Regions from separate parts of the Homo sapiens genome. Here region 2 is linked to region 1. The links are contacts of gene promoters, found by promoter capture Hi-C in blood cells and fetal thymus (Javierre and others, 2016). All regions are on one chromosome and are shown on one strand. Each heading gives the region's core, a stretch centred on a gene start or on the middle of the fragment in contact. The rest is flanking DNA. Distances are from core to core; before and after follow the strand shown. Region 1 holds the start of PLA2G4A (phospholipase A2 group IVA). Region 2 overlaps PLA2G4A (phospholipase A2 group IVA).

The links. The method cuts DNA at HindIII sites, captures the fragments that hold promoters and counts their contacts. A CHiCAGO score of 5 or more calls a contact.
Region 2: a fragment that was not itself captured here is called in contact with the fragment with the promoter of PLA2G4A in region 1 in 1 of 17 cell types (monocytes); the score reaches 5.6 in monocytes.

What each region holds. Positions count from the first base shown.
Region 1 is chr1:186,826,362-186,831,601 of GRCh38, forward strand. PLA2G4A (phospholipase A2 group IVA) reads left to right here and starts at 2,588. Exons shown (of 18, transcript NM_024420.3): 1 at 2,588-2,674. The HindIII fragment of the contact is 13,801 bases long and covers 1-5,240 here.
Region 2 is chr1:186,940,739-186,945,870 of GRCh38, forward strand. The region is part of intron 10 of PLA2G4A (phospholipase A2 group IVA); the gene reads left to right. Among named protein-coding and RNA genes, the nearest start is that of PLA2G4A, 110 kb to the left of the region's middle. The HindIII fragment of the contact is 283 bases long and covers 2,127-2,409 here.

The DNA of each region.
Region 1 (5,240 bases), core at 1,338-3,837:
CACAGGGCGGGGAACATCACACACGGGGGCCTGTCGTGGGATGAGGGGCAGGGGGAGGGATAGCATCAGGAGAAATACCTAATGTAAATGACGAGTTAATGGGTGCAGTAAACCAGCATGGCACATGTATACCTATGTAACAAACCTGCACGTTGTGCACATGTACCCTAGAACTTAAAGTAAAATTAAAAAAAAGAAAGAAAGAAAAATCAATCATACAAACATCAGGGTTCCCCCTCCCAACCCCCTGGGGTTTTTGAGCCATGGCTTTTGACAAGTAGGTGTTCTTTGTTAGTTAATTTGGCCAGTTTTGGGGTTGTTCCTTTTGATTACTTATCTAGTTCTTAGCTTATTATTCTCTTTCTAAAATTTTAAAGATGTGGAAAATTACTAGCAAACTGCATGAAACTTATTAGCTGGAAATAGTGCAAATGGTAGAATTGGATTCAAAGAAGCTGCTATGATATTTCTCAGTTTCAGATGGGTCCCAGATGACTAATCTTTGTTGATGGACAAACCAAGTGGAGAGGGGTCTTCAGACATAATTGATCCTATAGACTGAAGCACGCTATGGAAGTCAGGGCCTATCTTACCTAAGGTGGAAGCAGAGGTTTTTGAAGTCAGTAGGTCAATGCTGAAAATATTTTTGGAGGAAATTGGGCAAAGTGAAGACGGCAAATCTGAACTTGTACTATCCACCTAGGGGTCTATGTGAACAGTGAGATCACAAGTAGTGAGCCAAAATAGATGAGATAAGGAGGCCATAGAACCACAAAATGGGTAAATGGGATTTGGTCTGCACTGATTCCAGAGAGGAAAAGACATACCTGCAGCAGCCTTTATTCATTATAAAGGTGGAGATAAATCAGCTTCATTTAGTAAGGCGGGAAAGAGACAAACTTCTCCCCGTATATATTAACCCTAACCATGACATATAATGACATTTTCTTTAAAAGCGTTTAAATAAATTTTTTATCTTTAATGCATGACACACTATTGGATATCATCTGGAAATATTGAGAGCTATAACTTTTTGTTATCAAAAAAGCACTAGAGCACTTTTTTTGTGCTCTATAAGCAAGCACTGTGAAGCTGCTTTTCCAGGGAGTCTTTTTTATCAGAGTCTTAGAACGAACATGCCCTGCAGTATAGATTCTTTCTTTCACCAGTTGTGTCTGGGGGAAAGAGATGAAAACTACCAGTGTGCTCTCTGCTCCTCTAATTAACATACACCTCCTTTCTAGAAATTCAGGGATTTCTTTGGAAAGAGAAATTTTTTTTTTTTTTTTTTTTTTTTTTTTTTTTTTTTTTTTTTTTTTTTTTTGAGACGGAGTCTCGCTCTGTGGCCCAGGCGGGAGTGCAATGGCGCAATCTTGGCTCACTGCAAGCTCTGCCTCCCGGGTTCACGCCATTCTCCTGCCTCAGCCTCCCAAGTAGCTGGGACTACAGGCGCCCGCCACCACACCCGGCTAATTTTTTGTATTTTTAGTAGAGACGGGGGTTTCACCGTGTTAGCCAGGATAGTCTCGATCTCCTGACCTCGTGATCCGCCCGCCTTGGCCTCCCAAAGTGCTGGGATTACAGGCGTGAGCCACCGTGCCCAGCCCGAAAAATGTTTATTATAAATCTATCCTTCCTAAAAAAGACATTACTGGCTTTTTTTTTTTTCAAAGAGAGATTTATAATATGCCAGGTTGAATTTAGGGGAAAAAAATAAAAACAAATAAGAGTTGAATGTTGGGCTACAGAAAGCAGATATTCCAGAAGATTTAGTGAAATTATATTCTTTGAAAATATTGTAAGAGAGTTAGGAGAGTGAGTTCAGTATTTAATTAAAGGCAAAAACAAGATCCTGTGTTTGAAAAACAAGATATACTAAATGAACATGTCAATCTTTAAAGACATGAATTGATTCTCATGGAATTTGGGTACATTTAAACAATGCACCTTCTTCATTACAGTGCTATAAGGTATTTGGATTTACACTGCAAATTTGGAATTCAACCTGATTTCATTTTCTTCCCTAAATCTCAACATATATATTACATTATTTGGTATGCCTTTAATCTTAAATTTACAAAGAAATTATTATCAACACAGGTGTTCTGAGTCTGGAGTGGAAATATTTAAACAGATTTGATTTTTAAAGTGGTCTGATACTCATTTTTTAAAAATGTACATTTTTATATTTGGGGTTTGTTATAAACTTTGCCTTTTTAAATAATGCAAAAATGCTCTAGGTTATTCACTGTCTTTTCAATTTTGTTCTCCTTTGGAAAAAAGGAGGAAGTAGTTACTACTTAAGGACAAGTAGCAATTTCAGACGCGCGCACGCACACACACACACACACACACACACATCACACACACAGAAATCCACAACAGCACTCATGGAATTTAGGACTGATTAATTTACATATTATTTAAGCATATTTTCTGACTTCAAACTCCTGGTTCTAATAACTAAGCATTTACATTTACAATATTAGCTTCTATGAGAAGAGAGCGTTCTCCCTCTTCCCCTTTAATTCCACCTTAAAACATCTGCAAAAGCGCAAGGAGACCAGCCCACATTTTAGCCCCTCCTACTCAGGATAAGACTTTCTCTAAGTCCGGAGCTGAAAAAGGATCCTGACTGAAAGCTAGAGGCATTGAGGAGCCTGAAGATTCTCAGGTAACTCTGGGAACTGTAAGCAATATATTTATTCTTCCTCTGCTCCACTTCTCTCTCCCACCCTCCTTAGCTTTTACTTGGTAGTTTACTTGGAAGGAAGAAAGGACGGAGGGGAAACCTCGCTGCTTTAAAAAGTCAGCATGTCCTCTGCCTTTTGAAGTGAAACACAGATTAGGGACCTCAATTTTCTTCAAACCCACGCAGATTTGCCTTCCTGGATCTAAATGCACTGTGGAGTCAAAGATTAAGGTGTTTCTTTGGGTTGGAATCCCAGAAAGTTAGCATTCAAAACGGCGGTGAGGTGGCGCTTATTAGCGTTCCACGTGATGACACCCAATGGTTACTGATCCCCAAACTTGAGCAGCAGCATGCTGTGCTGTTTGACAGCCCTAGCGATCTTTAGCGAGAGACTTTGTTGACTCACTTAACTTTTAATTTCTAAAAATTGGTCATTTTTGTTACTTATGGGACGCTTTCCTGGCTAGTCAATATTTTGCAGAATTATGCGAAAGAAAGAGGATTATTGAAAAATTAACTGTAAACGGACTGGTGTTCTGATGATCCACCCTTCCCCTAAGTTACTTGGCTTGCCAAGAGAAAAAAAAAATCTCAAAACTAGATACTAGAAAAGATTTGATCAAATTACATAGTTAAATTTTGAGTGTGGATATTTCAGTAATTTTGTTTCCAAAAAAAACAGAAAAAAAAGGTATTTGATTTTAAAGTATCAGTGGATGAATGTATCTGTCTCCTACAATTTATAATCATTTTAGTCTTAAAAATAAATTCACCTCCAAAACCAGAACAAGAAATACTCCTCATATGGGTTGATGATGTCAGCATTTATTCAGCTAAGGCAGATGGAGAGTATTAGAGGCGTACTGTCTGAATGGGTGTCAATTCTAAAGTTATATTTGCCAATATAATTTGAGTTCAAAGAAGATTTGTATTTTTGTTTCTCTTTGTTGTTTAAATTTAGAATTGTGGCTCAAGGGATATTTGTAGAGGACTGTAGTGAAACAAGCTCTGTTAAGAATTTTAAAGTTACATTCTACAGGTTCCTACACCTTGCCAATCAAGTTAGAGGTTGGGATAAGAAACAGGTATTTACTTCTTTCATTAGCTCCGGAAGAGTTAAATTTTAAATTAAGCAATAATTGTGAAATGCATAGAGAAGTGTTTAATGTGCATTTGCTCAAAGGAGTTTTACAAACTTCCCTTAGGGGAAGCATATTTTTTGAGATAAGACATTGCATCTTTTTAACATATTTTTAAAAAGTAAGTTATTCTGGCTGGGCGCAGTGGCTCATGCCCGTAATACCAGCACTTTGGGAGGCCGAGGCGGGTGGATCACTTGAGGGCAGGAGTTCGAGACCAGCCTGGCCAACGTGGTGAAACCCCATCTCTACTAAAAATAGAAAAACTAGCCGGACGTGGTGGCAGGTGCCTGTAATCCCAGCTACTTGGGAGGCTGAGGCATGAGAATCGCTTGAACCCAGGAGGTGGAGGTTGCAGTGAGCCAAGATCGCGCCATTGCACTCCTGCCTGAGCGAAAACAGCGAAGCTCTGTCTCAAAAAAAAAAAAAAAAAAAAAAAAGTAAGTTATTCTGAAGTGTTTTGCATTTTTGCATTTACATTTAATTAGGAAAAGAAAAATTATTAAATAGATTTTTAGCAACTGAAAATGTTCATTCCATAGAGGTTATTTGGCTTATGTTTTTAACCCATTATCTTTTCTAGTGCTGGTACTTAGAAAGCAGTCATAAAATCGAATCATCTACATATTAAAATTATGTTCCAGGAATAAAAAAGAGGAAGACAGAATTAGTTGTGGTTCCCATTCATCTTGTTTGCTTTTATTTACCATCAGTTTTTTCCTCCTTCTTGCTCCAGATTGTATAGCTTGCTTGCTTGCTTGCTTGCTTTCTTTCTTTCTTTCTTTCTTTCTTTCTTTCTTTCTTTCTTTCTTTCTTTCTTTCTTTCTTTTTCTTTCTTTCTTACTTTTTCTTTCTTTTCTTTTTCTTTCTTTTGTTTTTGTTCCATCAAAGACACTTTTATAATCTTGTGACAGGTATGGACCCCTCCCTAGAATAATGCACATTATGCCATTCCAACACACACAAATTTAAAAACACCTTTAAGAAGTTCACAAATCCCCAAAGACAATTCATATTACATGAAAATGCAGTATTTCTTAAAACTTTGGAGTTTTCTGATAATATAAAATGATTAATTATAAAATCATTTTACTTATAAGTAAGGAACTAACAGTGGATATTGTAGCACCCACATAGTCATTTATTCATTGGTATTCTAGAACTCCAAGCAACTTGGTATAATGGAAAAAACTGCTTGCCTGAAACCAGGTGACCTAGGTTCTAGACTCAACCCCAATAATAATTAACTGTACAATATTACGCTTGACATTTTTCTGTAACATCTGTTGCTTTTATTGCCGAATGCAGTAAGTGAAACATAATAAGAAAATCAGATGCAAGTTATTTTTTATTGGATTGTGGGGTGTCTATATTTACTACTTTTATTCCAAAATTCCTAATGACATTTC
Region 2 (5,132 bases), core at 1,018-3,517, 110 kb after region 1:
ACGTTACATTTTCTGGAATTTTTAAAAAATATTTTTGATCTGCAGTTGATAGAATTTGCTGAACTCATGGGTATATAGAGCCAACTGTATGTTTGCCATTCAAAGTGCTGTTGTAATTTTTATAATTCAGCACCTAAAAAGTTCTAGTGTATATTTGTAGTGGTTGATGAACCAATGCCTCATTTTGTTAAAATCTCAGGAGTGAACACTTGTTTCTTCTCAAGCTTTGCTTCTTGGATACTATAAAAGTGCACAACACTACTCGGGAGGCTGGGGCAGGAGAATGGCATGAACTCGGGAGACAGAGGAGCTTCCAGTGAGCCGAGATCATGCCACTGCACTCCAGCCGGGGCCATAGAGCGAGACTCCGTCTCAAAAAAAAAAAAAAAAAAGGGCACAACAGCATACTTTTGGGGGGGCCTCTGTCAGTGTTAGTCTGCAGCACAATAGCATTTCTGACTGTAGCTGGTGGGCTTCATTCTATTTTTAGGAAAATTATCTCAGTGACTTCAGACACCCCATGAGCTTAAAAAACCATCATGAGTGGTGTGTAATTGGCACATATATATCCAGAATCCTTTTGTAATTTTCACTTTTCTCTCAACTGCCTCTCAGACAAAAATTTTGAATAGTTTACAAAAATTAGCACACATGGGATCCATTCATTCAAATGTTTATTAAAATATTGGCTAAAATGTTTGTCATGCTTATGGTTCAGAACGCACTTATCACATTTGCTATTTTATTCCATGTTTCCTACAACCGGGGAGTAGGTATTTTTAGCTCTGTTCAACAGAAGAAAAACGAAAACCTCATAAAGATTAAATAATTTGCACATTGCTGCTTAGAACGTAATTAGCAGTGCTGAAATTGGTTTCAAAAATCCTTTGTTCTTTTTATTTTACCATACTAACTTCTGATGTGTACATAGTGATTACCGTCTATATAGATTGCAGCAGTCTGCCGGGCGCTAAGGATGAATTCCTCTTTCCTCACCACAATATATTGTCCCTACCCTATAAGACCTTATAGTCTGTTTGGAAAATTTACAATAATTATTAAAGAAGTTAAGGCACAAGAGAGTACAGAACTGTTACTATACACTGTCATTTTGACCAAGTTATATAATCTACGTTAGACCCAGTTTTCTCATCTGTTAAGTGAAGATGAGACTTCTCACAATGTTTTGCCAAAAAATGAGACAAAGTATGTAAACAATGGCAGGCCCTAATAATAAGTTTCCAGTACATTTTAACAATTTAGAATGTTCTGTGAAAGCTGTATAAGAAAAGTCAGAGGTCTAGATCTTAAAGATTAATAGGATTTGAATATGAAAGGCACATTTAATTATTGGATTGTGGAAGGGGGCATGTAGCAGGGTCAGGGATAACTCAGGTGTGCTCAATGGCAACAAGGAACCACACATCTTGGGCTATAATGGGGTTCATAGTAGAGAGTTGAGACTTTATTACATAGAAAAGTAAGCGCCATAATGAAATTGCTTCCCCCCAGCCATAGCTATTATCTTGTGGAGCTTTGAAATTTTTGGAATTGTTTGATCTATAACACTTGCATGCTAGTCAGATTTTTGCATGGCCAAATAAATCATCCTTCACCCAGAAAGAATTACATGGTCAAAAGAACACTACATTCTAATTTAAAAGCCTTGTCTTACAATACTTCTAAGCTGAATACCTCAGGCTAGTCATGTAATCTCTGATTCTTATTTTCCTCCTTATTTTAAAAAATATATTAACCCTAAGATTTATCTTCCAGAGCTATTAAGGCAATAATATGAAATATGCATAAGATGAGACTGAAAACTATAAAGAGGCATACAAATATAAAAGTTTGTTTTTATTGTCATGATTGTTCTGGACTTTTCACGGTGGTTATATTTTATTCTGAATTTTTAGTCAATAGCCATTTTCCAAGAAAACTTAACTAAAATAATTAAAGAATAAATAATATTTGGGTGAGTGGATATTCTGGGTTCTTTTAGACTGAAAAAATGCTGTTTTATATTCAGTTAGTAGTCTTTGGACCTGGATGTGTCTTCTTTTGACATCTGCTTCACTGCAGTACTGCTACTGAGATGAGTGGTGCATCATTAACCTTCATTGTTAAGCTTCTGTCATAAGGCGGGTTGAGCTGTGTCTTCCAACAGATTTAGACAAAATCATTAAACATTAATTATATGAATCTTGTACCCAGATAAGACATCTTAAGGTACATGTCTTGAGTGTTCAAGTAGCTTTACTTGAGTTACTGGGAAAAAAAGAATAGAGACACGTCTGTAATTTATTCTTCCAATATATGCTTAGATTGAAAGTGGCTGTGTAGAAGAAAAAGTTGAGATAGTCTCTGAATTATATTTTTAAAAGTCAAATAATCAAATTAGCTTACAGAAGCTTTATTAACAATTTTACTTCAACAATACCGGATAATATTTTCCCTTCCTCTTGGAATAATTTTAAACACACCTTTCATTTAGAAATTTCTTGGAAATTTTCAACAAATAAACATTGGTGTTTAAACTGTTAGAAATTCCTGACTCCTCCACTACATCACATTGCTGAAAGGACTTAAAACGTTCATTTAAAAATTTCCACTGGTGAATAAACTGCATTTATGGATTACAACTTATGGTTATGAACTTAGCATCATGCTAAATTTTTTGACAGACACTTTAGAAGTACAAATATAGTATTTTTCCTCAAGAAAGTTATAATCCTATTGAAAGAGACAAAAATAAAGCATGGAAAAATTCCTATAATATACCTAGACCTGACATAAGTGTGTAGACCTGACATAAGGGTGAGATGTCATAGAGATTTAGTATAGTTGTAAGAAAGGGTGATGAAACTTGGATTTAAGTCGAATGTAGAAGGATCTATCAAGTACGGGTAAAAAGATACCTTTGTGTGGAAACAATATGAGAAAATGCTCAGAAGGGAAGCCAGAGTTATGTTTTGGGCATCACTATTAAAAAAAACAACTAGTCTAGGACTTATGCACACATTGGTGAAGAAAAGGTGTTGTATTTGGAGGCACCAATAGTCCCAAGTTATGGAATGATTTTAATTCCAGACAGAAATATTTTTATTTGATTTTGATGATAATGGAAATAGTTAATGCTTTTGTGCAGGGCAATAAAATTATTTATGTAGTGTTTTTGAAAAAGTCACTTTGGTGACCAATAAAAACAGAATGGAAAGGAATGAAACTGGAAGCAGAGATATCACTGTGCTTTTGTGATAAGGCCCTGGAACTAGGGACATACTGATAAGAAAAGAATAGATGGATATGAGAGGCCTAAAGGTTATCGGTGTGATGCAATGATGGATTTGATAGAGTGATAGCATGGTTTACTGAAATAGGTAAGCTGGCCCGGGAAGAAGGGTGATGAGTTCTTATCTAGGTAAGTATAGTGGGAGGAGATGACAGAATATCTGAGTGTAAGGGCCCCAAAGGAAGTTGAAAGTACATGGAAGCGCAGGAGAGAGGTTGGAGTCAAAAGGTAGAGTCACCAGCAGGAGAGAATTAGTTGAAAACTAACACCGTGAGTTCTTCAGTGAGGGGTGCAGAGCTCATTTTAGCTTTTGAGAATGCCTAAGTTACTATGTGCCCAGGCCATGGCGCTAATCAAGAAGAGATCGCTAGAAAAGCAGGAACCAGGAAGTTGTTATGCCTCAGTTCCCATGATAGGGTTGTGAAATTGAGAGATAGGAAATTACTTGTATGAATACAGGAATTTTCCTAACAGCCTCTGATTCATTGCTAGTTATGTCTCACAAATTCCACGTAAATCGTTGTAAATCACACCACTTTCTGATGAAGAATATATGTACCATTTGGCTTTGACATATAATGAATTACAATGTTATCAAAATTGTGATTTCATCACTTCCTTCATGAAAGGAAGGTGTTGTGACCTACCATTGAACAAACAATAAATATAGATCCACAATTCCTTTTCCAAACCTTTGGTGACATGTGTTTTAGAATTCAAAATGTTTGGATTTTGGAGATATAAAGATACTCATATTGTGTATTACCTAATACCCCATTGGGTTCTTATAATCAGTGATATTTCTCCAATAGGATATATAAATATCCACATTGAGTGGGATAAATGAATTATAAGAGCCCCCACTAACATTCAAGCCTGATTTCTCACTAAATGAATTCAGATTAGATTTTACAAACAAATGAGTAACAAAGAAGCTTATGAATTTTTGAATTGTTTGGATTTTGTATTGTTGGATAAGATATTACAGACATATTATAATTTCAGAAAGAGAAAAGCTAGAAAAAAAAATGAAGTGGGTTAGAGAATTATGAGTTGGGCAGGGGTGGATGATGTTGGGATTTTAAAATGGACCATCAGCAAAGACCCTAAAATAAAGATTAAGTAGGAGCAAGCATTATAACTGCAGAAGGGAATAGCAAGTGTAAGGTGCTGAAGTGGGAATGAACTTGACTTCTTTGAGGAACAGCAAGAAGATCTGTGCCGTGTGGCTGAAGTGAAGTGGGATACGCAAGACAAAATGTGATAGAACATTGTTAGGAGGGATGTGGTCACATCACACAGGGAGTGGGATCTAGGCCAGGACGGAAACTTGTCGGCCCTGTTTTTATTTTCAGTGTAATGGGAAGCTTTCAGATGACACTGGTGTGCTGTGATTTATATTTTTAAAGATTTATTCTGGCTATGGGATATCAAAAAGATAATAAGTGAACAGAGTAGAAGCATTTTAGGAGGTTATTGTGGAGGTCCAGGAGAGAGAATACAGCAATTTGTATCAGTACGATCACAGTGGACAAATGGATAAGTGACCAGGTTCTAAACATACCTCGTGATAGAGCCTACAGCACTTGATTTTTCCTGTGTAAGCTATAAGGGAAAAGAGAACCATCAAGGGTAATCCTGAAGTGAGTAGTGGCATGAATAATATAGTACCATTTACCAACAAGAAGAAGAATGAAGGAGTTGCAAATGTAGAAAATGGGAATCAGAAACCAGGAGTTCTTGCTGAAGACATCAAGATGCAGATGATAATTAGACATAGTCGTAGCCATGGGAATACATGAAACATAAAGTGGCTACTATTTATTGAGCAATTAAAATG